2 separate regions of the Homo sapiens genome follow, and region 1 is linked to region 2. Evidence: promoter capture Hi-C in human tissues and cell types (Jung and others, 2019). All regions are on one chromosome and are shown on one strand. Each heading gives the region's core, a stretch centred on a gene start or on the middle of the fragment in contact. The rest is flanking DNA. Distances are from core to core; before and after follow the strand shown. Region 1 overlaps NGEF (neuronal guanine nucleotide exchange factor). Region 2 holds the start of NGEF (neuronal guanine nucleotide exchange factor).

The links. The method cuts DNA at HindIII sites, captures the fragments that hold promoters and counts their contacts. A contact is called where the count stands out against the background at its distance.
Region 1: a contact is called between a fragment that was not itself captured here and the fragment with the promoter of NGEF in region 2, in 1 of the 25 tissues and cell types used here (pancreas).

Annotation. Positions count from the first base shown.
Region 1 is chr2:232,973,789-232,980,286 of GRCh38, forward strand. NGEF (neuronal guanine nucleotide exchange factor) reads right to left here. Exons shown (of 15, transcript NM_019850.3): 2 at 835-1,176. The coding sequence starts at 1,102. Among named protein-coding and RNA genes, the nearest start is that of NGEF, 36 kb to the right of the region's middle. The HindIII fragment of the contact is 5,074 bases long and covers 796-5,869 here.
Region 2 is chr2:233,010,833-233,018,117 of GRCh38, forward strand. It overlaps NGEF (neuronal guanine nucleotide exchange factor), which reads right to left and starts at 2,424. Exons shown (of 15, transcript NM_019850.3): 1 at 2,236-2,424. LOC101928881 (a long non-coding RNA gene) reads left to right here and starts at 1,782. Exons shown (of 3, transcript NR_136325.1): 1 at 1,782-2,137; 2 at 2,308-2,415; 3 at 4,875-5,053. The HindIII fragment of the contact is 2,443 bases long and covers 1,777-4,219 here.

The sequences.
Region 1 (6,498 bases), core at 2,083-4,582, 36 kb before region 2:
TAATAAATATTGTTGTTTTAAGTCTCTATATTTTGAGGGGAGTTTAACGTGTGGCAAACAGCTACCCAATACAGGGTTTAATGAATGTTTTTGAATGCACTGATGAAGTCTCTGGATTTAGCAGGGGTTGCCACTCTGGCACACTCAGGGTAGCATATATAGTCTGGTGGCAGCTGCTGTGCCTCCCGGGCTGGGAAACTGTCACACATTCTTCACCCCCAGCAGGCTGCCTGTCAACCACAGGAGCACGTCACAAGGAAAAGAGTCTGTAGCACCAACACCCCATTTGTAAAGTTTTCTGAACTTTATTCTGCTCAATGCATATATTTTGAGCAGATAAAATGTGCTAGGCACTGGTCTAAAAGATTAAGAAGTCTTGCTGCAAATCTATTCCCAAGGTTTTAATCTCATTTATTTTCAGAGCAGCAGAAGCTTTGGCTATGGCAGTCACAGTGAGAGAACAGGACAGAACCTCATCACCGAGACAATTCATGTTCTCAGATGACCCGTAATGTGGATGGCTCTAAGTCTCCCTCCTAGAATGCATGTACAGCGAGGGGTGTTTTGCTGAGTTCTAGAACAAGAAATCTCTTTTCAGTAGAAGCCAGTCTAATTGTCTAATTTGGGTCAACCCTTTCTCCTAAGTACACACGTCATCATAGTGGAGGAATTTGGGTTCTTTAGATAATGGTTTTAAAATGCACTACCCTGTTGAAACTGTCCTTGGTACTTTTCAATGCCACTTATCCTTTCTCATTTAATGAGGACCTTTCAGCACTGATGACTCCAGTTGGATGTAAGGGAACAGCCGTGACAGCTGTCCCTGATACTGACCTGCCAGGCAGCTGGCGTTCCGTTCGGGGTTGTCTCTGGCCTTGGCTTTGCTTTTGCGTCTTATGGAGCGATTGAAGATGGAATTTCTCTTAATTGGGATGTGGCAATGAGGCTCTTTGTCTTGGATATCCTGGTCAGCTTGAGAAGTCTCCTCTTTTTCTGGGAGTAACTCAGGTTTCACCTTGGCTGGTTCATTATCAGTGTTCCATTGATCACTTGCTGATTTCCTCCGGGTCTTTTCCAAATCTTCAGATTCCCTGGTCTCCATGGAAATAGAGCCAGATGTTTCTCAGCAGAACGACTGGAGGTCAATGACTTTCCCAAGCTTCACTGGTTTGAGTGCTTTAGAATAGATAGAAAACAATTTTCAGTTAGTCATCAGGCTAAGTATTCTATTCAGACTGTGGAACTCCACTCCCATTCGAATTTGATGAAACGTGGGATAATCTGCACATCCTGGTATCCACGTCTTCGCCACTGAAAATTACAGCTTAATCTCTGCAATTTGGAGGCATTCACGTATCATTTTATAATTGCCGTTTGTTTACATTATTCCTAAGAGGCACTTTTAGGGGGAAATGTTTAAAGTGGCTTGCAAAACTACATTCAAATAAATACTTCTTAAATAATTCCAGAGAAAAAGGGTGGCAGAAATAGTGAGGGAATTCCAGGAAAGCATTGAGAGGGACCGTAAATGTCTAGACAGGAAAAGAAAGTCTCAGAAGATGAGAAAGGGTTGTGGGCTGGTGCAAGGTCTCACAATGGTAAGTTTAGACATGGGCAAGGTTGATCCCCAAGGCGACAAACCTTGCCATCAGCTGGCAACCAAGTCTAGTGGGTGCATTAGTGGCCTTTCTGATGGAATGATGTATGGCCGTGGTGGAAGAATAAGGTCCCCCCATCCCATGGCCACCCCACCATGGGCTGGAGAAACAGAATGGTTACCTCCCTCTGGGGTGACCATATAGCATATCATCTGAACGAGGACACTTTTCATAGGAAAAGGGGGATACAACAGGAACAAACCCCACCTCCCTCCCCACAAAGACCTCCTAGGGTAGGGGTGCTCAGGGCGAGAGACTATGTGGACCCTCTTAGTGGGTCTAAGCTGGTGGGACAGCGTGTTAGACAGAGAGGCCGAGCTAGGAATTCTTCTCAGCTCTCCACTCATCTGAGGGCTTGAAACCTGGGGTCACATGGATTCTATGGAGGTTTTCAGGGTACAAGGCTGTGTATGAGCATATACATTTTTCTGGCCTATCGGTCCAGAGATTCCATCATACCTTCAAAATGGTCAGAGACTTGGCCAGGCACCGGCCTATAATCCTAGCACTTTGGGAGGCCGAGGCGAGCAGATCACCTGAGGCCAGGAGTTCAAGATCAGCCTGGCCAACATGGAGAAACCCTGTCTCTACTAAAAATATAAAAATTAGCTGGGTTTGGTGGCACATGCCTGTAGTCCCAGCTTCTCGGGAGGCTGAGGCAGGAGAATCGCTTGAATCTGGGAGGTGGAGGTTGCCATAAGCAGAGATCTTGCCACTGCACTCCAGCCTGGGCAACAGAGCCAGACTCCATCTCAAAAAAACCCTTCCAGTCCTCTTCTGTTGCTCCCTTCCACAAACATCCAGCTCAACCAGTGTTCTACGATTCATCAGGAGTGTTTGTCTGTGTCTTCCTTTGTGAAATGGGGAGCATGGAGGGCTGGGTTTCAGATGCCTCCTTTCCCACCGCACCACTCCTCTTCCTCCACAGTCCCTCTGAGTTCCCAAACACCTTCTTCTACACCCACCAGCCAGCCCCACACTACTGATCTCAGGGCAGGTGGTCTGGCAGAATAGTCAGGAGGTTGGGTTTCCCCTACCCCAGGCCGAGAATGCCTTCGTTTACCTAAGATAGGAATTAGGACTTTCTGGGTAGGGGGATTTGAAGACTGAAGGCCACTCTGGTTCCTAGAACCAGCTACTTCCGACACAGGTTTGTATCAGAAGGTTTGCCCTAGGATGGCACCTCCTTCCCACCTGCTTGCAGGGCTGATCCTGTTCTATTAACCACCTTCCCTGTAAATTGTCAGCCAGGCAGAAATGAGCATTAACGTACTCAGAGGTTGCCTCAGAGCAGCTGGGCCACGTGCAGGGGCACAACCTGAGCTCATGGGGACCTGGGGAGTGCCTTCCCCACCACGGTCGTCTGGGGGACCCAGCAATACCTGACCCTTCTGGTCCCGGCCTCAGTTTCCTGATCCATGAAGTTGGAGTGTGCACTATGGGGTCGGTGAAGCCCCTTCCAACTAGAAAGCAACGCTGCTATTTCAGGTGGCCAGAGAGGATTGTGCGGTGGCTGGGAGGACACACTTAGGATGGACCATTAATACGCACCCTTCCCGGGAGTGCCTGGGAGGAAGATGCTTGTCTTATGTGTGGCAAAGAACCCACAGCTCCAGCGAGATGGGGTGATTTTCATTCACAGCAAGTTTAACCTGGGTCACTGAGGGGATGAGGTTGCAATAAGAGCGAAACCGTTCTTGAGCCAGCAAGAGGACAGAGAGAGAGAGAGGCTTCCAACCTGGCCAGATGAACGGGGACCCCTGCACTTGCTCCACTTGGGAACCTGATCCACCAGAAAAGTGGCTGCAAGGACGGGCAGAGACTCGGGAGGGACGAGGTCACCATTGTCACCCATCTGACCTCTGGGAGCCTGGGGGCAGAATGAGACCCAGAGACAATGATGGCCTTGAGCTCAGTGTAAGGCGGAGACCATGAGTGTCCGAGCTCCCCAGAGATGGGGGTGCTGCTTTGGGGGCTGACGTCCCTGTCACTGGAGCTGTCCAGATGGAGGCTGGAGGCGCTGTTGAGGTTTTAGAGTTCAGTGAGGCCTGCCTGCCGCTGGCATTGCCTTCTCTCTTCTTTCCCCGGCCCCTGTGCCTACCACCTCACCCAAACCCTTGCATTGAGGCTGCTTTCAGTGAAGAGCTGGACCTGTGGACAGTGATAGGCAGGGGTCCCGTGGGGTGGGAGTGGGGGTGGATGATGTAGGCATTCATTGTGTTTTGGTGCCAGTCTGTGGAGGCCTCTGACTGCTGGACCGAGGAGCTCACCCAGCAAACCCTGCTGGTGGCCAGAGGGCCTGGCAGGCCCCGAGCAGGAGGCACAGGCGGGGTGGTGGGGGACATAGAGCACGTCCTGAGGGGGATGGCACACAGGTGAGTACCTGGACAGGTCAGAGCTGCAGGGAGGAATGGGAGGAATTGCAGGTCAGTGACTTGTGGTGGTTTTGAGAGCAGCGGACAAGGGAGCTGGCCCCCTGTTTGTTGTGGGCCTGGGTGCCTGGCGGAATGCCACTCCTGGTCTGGGAAGCAGGAGTGAAGCCAGGTTGGGGTCAGAGCACACTGGTTTTGCGGTGTTGGGTTGAGGAATCTCCCAGGAGAAAAGTTTGTGGACAGAAATCCCTAACCGACACTGGACTGAGTTGCTAACAGGCATCTTCCGGCTCTGACAAGGGGACCCCCGGGGCCTCTGTGTTGTGATCCTAACATGAACTTTTTTTTTTTTTGGCTTTCAAGGTTATTATTACTATCAGTATCGTCATTATTTTAGGCTGTATCTTAAAAACTTGAGGGGCTGGGCATGGTGGCTCACGTCTGTAATCCCAGCACAGGCTGAGGGGGGGGATCATTTGAGGTCAGGAGTTCAAGACCAGCCTGGCCAACATGGTGAAAACCAGTCTCTACTAAAAGAAAAAAAATATTAGCTGGGCGTGGTGGTGGGCGCCTGTAATCCCAGCTACTCCGGATGCTGAGGCAGGAGAATCGCTTGAAACGGGAAGGCATAGGTTGCAGTGAGCCGAGATTGCGCCACTGCATTCCAGCCTGGGCGACAGAGCGAGACTCCATCTCAAAAACAAGACAAAACGAAACAAAAATAACTTGCGGTATAATTTACTCTTTTTATTAGTTTTGACAAACACATTCAGTGCATGTAACCACCACCACCACCAAGATACAGAACAGCTCCCTCAACAGGGAAAAGTCCCCTTGTGCCTGCGGAGGTCAGTAACTGCCCCGCCCCCAGCCCCGGCAACCACCAATTAGAGTCTTGGTTTGCCCTTTTCTGTTGTGTAGGTGGAGCTGGCAGTCTGTCGCCCTTGCTGGAGAGCAGTGGTGCAGTAGAGGCTCATCCGTGGCTCACTGCAGCCTCGACCTCATGGGCTCAAGCCATCTTCCCACCTCAGCCCCTTGAATAGCTGGGAGCACAGGCGCCCGCCTAATACTTGTATTTTTTGTAGGGATGGGTTTTGCCATGCTGCCCAGGCTGGGTGTCTGGCTTCTGTAGCCTATTGTGCTGTGTTCGCTGCTCTGTCGACGTTGCCTGTGTCAGTGCTGATCACCAGCATTTACTGTGCGGTGCCAGGGATGCAACGACGCCCACACCATATACCACCAAGGGCACTGGGCCAGGAGTCAGGGGACCTGGGTTCGAATCTCCATTTCCAGCTGCTTGTAATCACAGGCTTAACATCAGGCAAGTCAGGGCCTCAGTTTCCTGTCCAGAAAACATGGGGTGGGTGGGTATTCTTGACTTCTAGCTCTCAAATTTGGTGATCCAGGGAGGCTCAGAGGGTCCTTAGAGGGATGTTCATGGTACATTAAGAGTCAGGGGGATTGTCCTCCCTGAAATGAGGAGGCTCTGAAACCCTGAGAAGAAGTATTCCCAGATCTTACCACCTTTGAGATGATTTTACACACACACACACACACACACACACACACACACACACAGGAAGAGATTGTAAAACTATCTGTAAAACTATTCTAATTCTGCTGCAATTATAGACTATTTTAAGCAAATGTGCTCTGCGTCTGGAATCTTTTTATAATTGCTTTGATTCGTCTATAACGATTAACTGCCAGAAAACCCAGAAGCTTCCCCCACCCCAATCTTCTGATGTTCCCTTAAGTTCCTCTGTGGCTTTAGACCCATGTCTTTCTATTCCATGGTAACTTCAGGGTGGGGGAGCCTGGGGATAGCTTTGTGATTGAGGGAGGGTGCAGCTCATGGTGCACTTGCATTCATTCATTCATTCACACCCCCTGAGCACCTGCTGGCATGGGACTCACGTCTTCATTCTATGTCTGTCCACATTCCCTCCTTAATAAGCTTCCTCAGGACAGGACTTGGTCTGTTTGGGTCTCTGTTGTTCCTGATGCCGGCCACACAACAACACTCTGTAAACATCTTTTTTTTTTTTTTACAGCAATAGATGAACGGATGAGTTACCTTAGCCAAGCCTCGCAACTTCCGCATGAGTCAATGTGATAATTACTCCACTTTATAGATGAGGCAGCTGCCACTCTCAGAGCTGTGATAATCTGGCCAAGGTCGCATGGCTGGCAAATGGTGCGGCAGGGGTCACACTACAGCTATCTGACTCATTTGTTGGGGGGACCTGTGATGTGGTCAAAAGATGCTGTTGTAACTGTGGGCTGAAGTCAGGCCTGGAAGGATCAGAGCCAGGAGGGGGCTCTATTTGGCTGTCTCTGTGTTAGTTGTGCAGCTTCAGGCCCAGGAGCTGAGGTGGCTGTTACACCTCCCAGCACTGGGCTGCATGAATCAGTGTGTGAATCAGTGTCCTGGGAGGTCAGGACACAAGGGGACAAGGAGGTGGGGA
Region 2 (7,285 bases), core at 1,174-3,673:
CCAGTCTGGAGGCAGAATTCCACCCCCTGGTCTGACCTCTCCCAAGGTGGGGAGAGGTGGTCCCAGGCCAAGGGAAGGAATTTTTCCTGAGGCCCAGCAGCCTCCTGAAGACACCATCATGGTAGCAGAGGGGGCTTAGGTGCGGGGAGAAGGGGGGTCTGAAAAGAGGCAGCCCATCCAGGCTCAGAGATGGAACCCCCTGCTCCGCTGGGCCACGGTGCCTCTCAGCCTCAGGATCCTATCACCGTTGTTGGGGTGAGAGGGCTGGTGTGCTCTTTTCACCAAGCGGGGTTTCTGGCCTGGCCTCGGGGGTGTGGGACACAGCATCGCTTCATCTCCACTAGCCTGAGGGCCACCATTGTCCCATCTGTGTCCCCAGCCCCACTTCAAAGCCTCACACATACACTGTGCACAGCAATTATCTATGAAGGAGTAAAGGAATTTTTGCCATTGGGGTTGTGCTGGGGGGTGACTTCAGAGCATCAGAGCTGACTCCTTACTCGGGAAGCAATGGGCCCATGTAGATGGGGAAGGGACGTCATCTTGGGAGACGGGATGTCCGACTTGGTGCTGGTGGCTCACCAGCTTCTTGGGACAAACAGCAGCTCCTGCGCCCCTGGTAGAGCCAGCAGGCTTGGGTGGTTAGGTTTGGTCTCCTCTGAGAGGCTCTGGGTGGCCCCACAACATCTGGGCTATTTTGTTACTGGTACAAGCTTCCGGTCTCCCACAGGCCAAGGGAAGTTCTTAAAGCAATGAAAAAAAAAAAAAAAAAGGAACAGAGACAGAGTCTTGCCAGGTTGCCCAGGTTGGAATGCAGTGATATGATCATAGCCCACCGCATGACTTCTGGGCTCAAGCAGCCCTCCTGCCTCTGCCTCCTGAGTGGCTGAGACTACAGGCATGCATCAGCTCTTCTTAAAGCAATTCATCTTCCCCCATGTCTAGCCTCATCTGTGTCCCCAGCCCCACTGGGGCAGAAAGCTGTGGAATGTTACTCACACTGTCATTGGATCAACCCCTGGCTTTCCTGTGGGGATCCCCTCCCTGGGAGGGGTTCCCATGACAATTTGGGCTCCAGAAAGGGATGTGGGAGGAGAGTGCGGTGGAGGGAGGTGGTCTGTGGTCTCCCTTCATGGACCAGAAAGCTTGACCCCCAAGGGGACCCTGGCTTCTACTTCCTCAGAGCTAAGCAGTGCCAAGGGGCAGCCTGAGACATGGGCAAAGGGGAAGCCTAAATGGAAAAAGAGAGAGAGAGAGAGAGAAAGAGAGAAGGGGCAGGGAGGACAAAGACACATGGCAAGTGTCCAAGCTGGAACATTCCCACCAGTGGCCTTATTGCATTAAGGATTTTCCCAAAAAGCAGAAATACACTGATAGTCAATGGAACATAGCAGAGCTGTCACGAGCCCAGGAAACACAAGTCCCACCTCTACACAGCCAGAGACTGTGTGACTGTCCCAAATTTTAAATCAAGATAGACAATAAGAACCTACCACTTTCACATCCAAGAAAACTGTGTCCCTACACATTTCAGTCACACCGTGCTGTGGCTTGAGGCCAGCCAGATGCAAAAATCAGGAAGGTTCTGAGGGGTAGGGCCTTCTGTCTTTCTGAAAGGGGCCCCTGAGCGGAGGGGGCAGTGCTGGGGGAGCTAAAGCGCAGTGGGCTGTCACTTCACGACTATGACTTCTGTTTCCCAAGTGCACTTCCTGACCCTGAGATTTGTGCCATGGCACACAGGAATCAGGGCACTTCCGTTTACATATACGCTCATTATCAGGACTGGCGTCGTGGGTGTGGGGCCTGGGCAGTCACAGGGCCCTGTTCTTAGAAGGTGCCCCGGCTTGCTTTAATGCTGTGTTGTTGTCCTTTTGAAAGCCTTACTATTTTAACAAGGGGCCCTGCATTTTTATATTGCACAGGGCCCTGCAATTATGCAGCCATTCCTGCTTTTGATCTCACTTACCCCACAGCCATAATGGAAGAGCGCCTGGAAGGAGTCCTTATCCTGATTCCCAGATGGTGAAACTGAGTGCCAGGAGGGGCAGTGCTGAAGCCGAGACCAGACAGGATCCCTCGGGTGGAATCCAGGGCTGCTGTTTCTCTTGGGGGCTCCTCCTCAGTGAATGGATGGGTGGTAATCTCCTTTCCTACCTGTCCTAGCGGTAGCCTCTGTTCCTTCTCTTGTTTTATCTCATTTTATTTTTTTAAAAAATACCAAAACCATTCTCTCACCTGCCAGAGAGGAGCTCATAGGAGTTGGGCTTCCTCAGAGAGTGTTCCTCCCTCGTCCCCTGTCCTGTCCAGGCACCTGCGAGCAGGATGGTGTGTCCCCGGCTAAATCCACAGGCGCTCCACTCTGTCCCAGAGAGCCCACAGCCAAAAACTTCGTCCTGTCCTGGAAAAGCTTCACTGGTAAGCATTCCCGACCTTTAGACCTGCCTTGGCCCATAGCTGGCCACGAGCCCATAACGATCACTTCCCGGCTGGGTGTTTACCTTCCTGGGCCCCATGGGTTGAGCCAGGGTGGCAGCCACATACCTGACACAAAAGTGGTGCAGGAGGGAAGGGCTATCTGAGGGGAAGGCTGGGCATGGCTGGAATACCCGCCGCCCGCCCAGTGCAAGATAATGCTGATGGTCACACCAAGAGGGGCCCGTGGCTCAGCTGGCCCACCAACCCCAAGCATTGGCCAAGCCAGCTGCACGGCCCTCAAATCTGAGATTTGGGAGAGGCTTTGGGGTCCTCCAGGGTTCTAGTCACTTCCTGCCATGGCCATCTGGCCTTAACTCAATCACTTCCAGGCATGGAACACTCACTGCTTTGTAAGGCATCTTGCTCCATTATTATTATTATTATTATTATTATTATTATTATTATTATTCCCTCTAATAGCTTCCTTTAATCCAGTGCTTACTACATGACAGGCACTGGGCTAAGTACATTACATAATCTATGTAATCCTTGTGTTGTCACTATGACCAGAGAATCATGCCCATTTTAAAGATGCAGAAACAGAGGCTCAAGAAATTGATCATCTTGCTCAAAGCCCCACAGCTAGTAAGTTGGGGATCCAGGATTCAAACCCAAGCCAACTAGTATCAAAACCACTACCATCATTTGCCAAGTTTAATTGCTACATCATCCATCTTTATATAAAACTCAAATCAGCGTTTGTTTTAGCTATCTGTTCTGGAAACAAATTAACTCAAAGTGTGTGGCTTGAAATAACACTCATTTGTCATCTCAGTTTCTGTGGCTAGAAGTCTGGGCACTGCTTGGCTGGGTTCTCTGCTCAGGGTTTCTCATAAGTTGCCATCCAAGTGTTGGAGGGGCTGAGGTCTCATCTCATGGCTCCACTAGGGGGGATCCACTTCCAAGCTGCTGGTGTTGGCAGGATTCAGTTTCTTAGGGCTGTAGGATGAAGGCCTCAGCCCCTCTCAGCTGTCAGCTGTGGCCACTATCAGTCCTTTGCCATGTGGGCCTCTCCGCCCTGGCAGCTCGTTGCATCAGAGAGGGCTATGGAGAGAGTCTGGGAAGAGGTAGGTCAGTCTTTTGTAATATACTCAAGGATGTGATATTCCATCACTTCTGGCATATTCTACTCGTTAGAAGGAAGTCATCAGGCACAGCCTACACTCAAAGGTAGGGGATTACACAGGGCACAATACCAGGGGTGGGGGTCCCTGAGGGCCATCTTTGAAAGTTCCCACAGCCATCTGATTGCCACAAAACATGGGTTTCAGTTTTGTCCCTGAAAGCCAGATTGAAGTAGTCTCTCATCTATTCTCTCACCCATCCATCCACCCATCCACCCATCCATCCACCCATCCACCCATCCATCCGTCCATCCATCCATCCACCATCCATCCACCCATCCATCCATCATCCACCCATCCACCCATCCATCCACCCATCCATCCATCCATTATCCACCCATCCACCCATCCATCCACCCATCCACACTTCCATCCACCCACCCATCCATCCACCCACCCTTCCATCCATCCATCCACCCACCATCTATCCATCCAACCATCCATCCATCCATCCATCCATCCATCCATCCATCCATCCATCCACCCAACCATCTACTCATCCATTCATCCACCCACTCATCCACCCATTCATCTACCCAACCATCTACTCATCCATTCATCCACCCACTCATCCACCCATTCATCTACCCATCCATCTACTCAACTACCCATCCACCCACCCATTCATCCATCCACCCATCCATCTATCCACCCATCCACCCATCCATCTATCCACCCATCCACCCATCCATCTATCCACCCATCCATCCACCATCCATCCATCCACCATCCATCCCTTCACCCATCCATCCATCCACCCACCATCTATCCATCCATCCACCCACCCATCCACCCACCAATCCACCCACCCACCTACTCATCCATTCATCCACCCACTCATCCACACATCCACCCACTTATCCACACATCCATCTACCCATCCATCTACTCATCCACCCATCCACCCACCCATTCATCCATCCACCCATCCACCCATCCAGTCATCCACCCATCCATCCACCCATCCACCCATCCATCTATCCATCCACCATCCATCCATCCACTCATCCACTTACCCATATATCCATCCAGCCATCCATCCACCCATCCACCCATCCATCTATCCATCCACCATCCATCCATCCACTCATCCATTTACCCATATATCCATCCAGCCATCCACCCAGCCATCCACCCATTTATCCAACCTTTCCTTCATTCATTCAACAAACATTTGAGCAGGGCACTATAAACCAGATCCCGCATTAGGCTCAAGAGATATTAAAATAAGTGCATTAACTCCCTCTTTCCCCTCTCTGTCCCTTGCCACCAAAGCCTTCCAACAGAGCCTTCCTGCATGCCGAGGTTGAAGAGGTGTCCGCTGAGTGCTCTGTCTTCTGGGAATTTTGGCTGTTTCCTGCAACCTATCATCAGATGCCACACTTATGAGACCCTCATCCTTCTGCTCACTCTCTTCCATTGTTTCACTCATTAAAAATATATATTTTAAGCAATTCCTAAATGTAAGTGTTTGTAGCGGGTGTGTGTGTGTGTGTGTGTGTGTGTGTGTGTGTGTGTGTGCGTGTAGGAATAGATCTGAGTGGGACCATGGGGATGCAGCAGGGACCTCCTGGGTGGGCAGGGCCAGCAAGGGGCACAGGTAGAGGCCTGAGCCCTGGACTCACCTGCCTGTGGACCTGTCCCCACAACCCAGCTCCCCAGGCCCAGGGCTGAGGGAATGAACTCGTGAGAAGAGGGTGAAGGGGCCAGTGGGGTTGTCATGTTCAGGTGCCCAGTGGGATGACTTTGAAAATTAAAATTATAAGTCTTTCACGCAGGAGACCATTTCTTTCCTATTGAGCACCTAGTACCAGTAGGTACTGTGCTAGGCCCTGGGGCTGCAATTGGGTGGCTTTCTAAAGTGAATCTAATTTCCTTTTTTGTCCTTTGCTCTATCTCACTGCCTCAGAACAGGCCCCCATCAACTCCTACCTGACAATTGCAATGTCCTTTAAATGGGTCTCTTGGCTTCAGTCTCTCCCAATTGCTTCCAGCCCTCAGCACCCCATCCCACTCAGTAGCCATGTGAATCTGCTGACACAGATCTGATCTTGTCACTTTCTTGCTCAAAAACATTTTATATAACCTACGTTAACAGTTTTATGAGTGTTCTTCCAGAAATGTTCTATATATACATAATCTCTACCTCCCTGCCTCTCTCTCCCTCTCTCTCTCTCTCCCTTGCATGTCTGTGTGCATACACACACACACACACACACACACACACACACACACACCTATATCCTTTGTTTTACTTAGGCAGGATCTCAACATGTATGTTCTGTTCTGTATTACTGTTTTGGTGGTTTTCCAATTTAGCACACTTTGAAGTTCTTCACTGTTTTTAATGGCTGTCGGCTGTTGTGCTATAGAAATATTCTGGGATGGTACTGAGAAATCCCTTTCAGGGCCTGGGGTGTCCTTGACCCGAAGCTTTTGTGATGCTTTTCTGAGTGATAATTTTGATAGATCATTAATGAGCTTAGTAGTCATAAGCCAATTGTTTCAAAGGAATTTTCATAATTTTGCATTTGTAGGAATTGAATAATTAATATAATGAGTTTAATTCATTATAAGACTTTTTTTTTAAGATGATAAAATACCTTCTCATGTTAAGTTTGCTTTAAGGGGTGGGAAGAGGAGAAGAATCTAAATGTTTTAATTGTTATTGTTTTGGTTATTTGAAAAGTAAAATTTAAATATATAAAGATGATGGACCAGGCCTGGTTAAGAAAAAGAACTGAACAGAAGCAGGAATACTTATCAAAACACCTACTGAGTACTTGTGAACCAGGCACTGTTCTAAGTGCTTTACAAGGATTAACATGTTTAATCTTCCCTACAGTCTTAGGATGAGGAAGCCAGATCTAAAGGGGTTAAAGCTTTCCCGAGATCCCATAAATTTTCTGGAACATACAGAAATGCTGCATATATATTTTTTGTAATGTAAATATGTAATTCAATTCAAAACAAGAAAAGTACATGTTCAGGTGCCACAAATGAAGAGATAATTCTATATTTACCTCGGTAAGCTGAGTACTTTAGGGACTGTAGCATACATTCCTTATGGTGTTTGTTATAAATTAATGGTTATGGGGAAACAAGAATCAAAGCCTCTGAACTTGAACACAGCAGGAAGCTTGACGAGGTTGATTATAGATCAGAAGTAAAAAAATGTCCCAGGCCATGGATAGAAATAGAATTACCCACAAGAATGTGGAGAACAAGCTGGATCCACACATGTACTCATGATGTACAAAAATCCCAAGATGGAAATGGAGAAAAAAATTTGAGAATTTGTGACCCCTTAAGACTTATGCAGAGGCAACTAGGGGGAGGTCGCCACAATCTAGGTCACTGGTAGGAACAATTCCACCACCACACTGAAAGGATAATTCCCATTGAAGATGAGCTCATAGGCAGAAATTATAAAACATATTGGTCTTAAGGAAGACCAATATGAAGAATATAATTTATTAAACATGATAATACCAAATTGTAAAACATTTGAGAAAGTCCAACATAAAGAAATACATCCCACAAAAATGGGAGAGTTGACACATGAGAAAATAGAAACAATAGAACAATATTTAAAAAGACCTTAAAAACTAAGTATGCGTTTCATTTCAGAAGTGGGTGTGTGACATAATTACCTTCTTGGGATTTCAAAGTACAACCATTAAGAC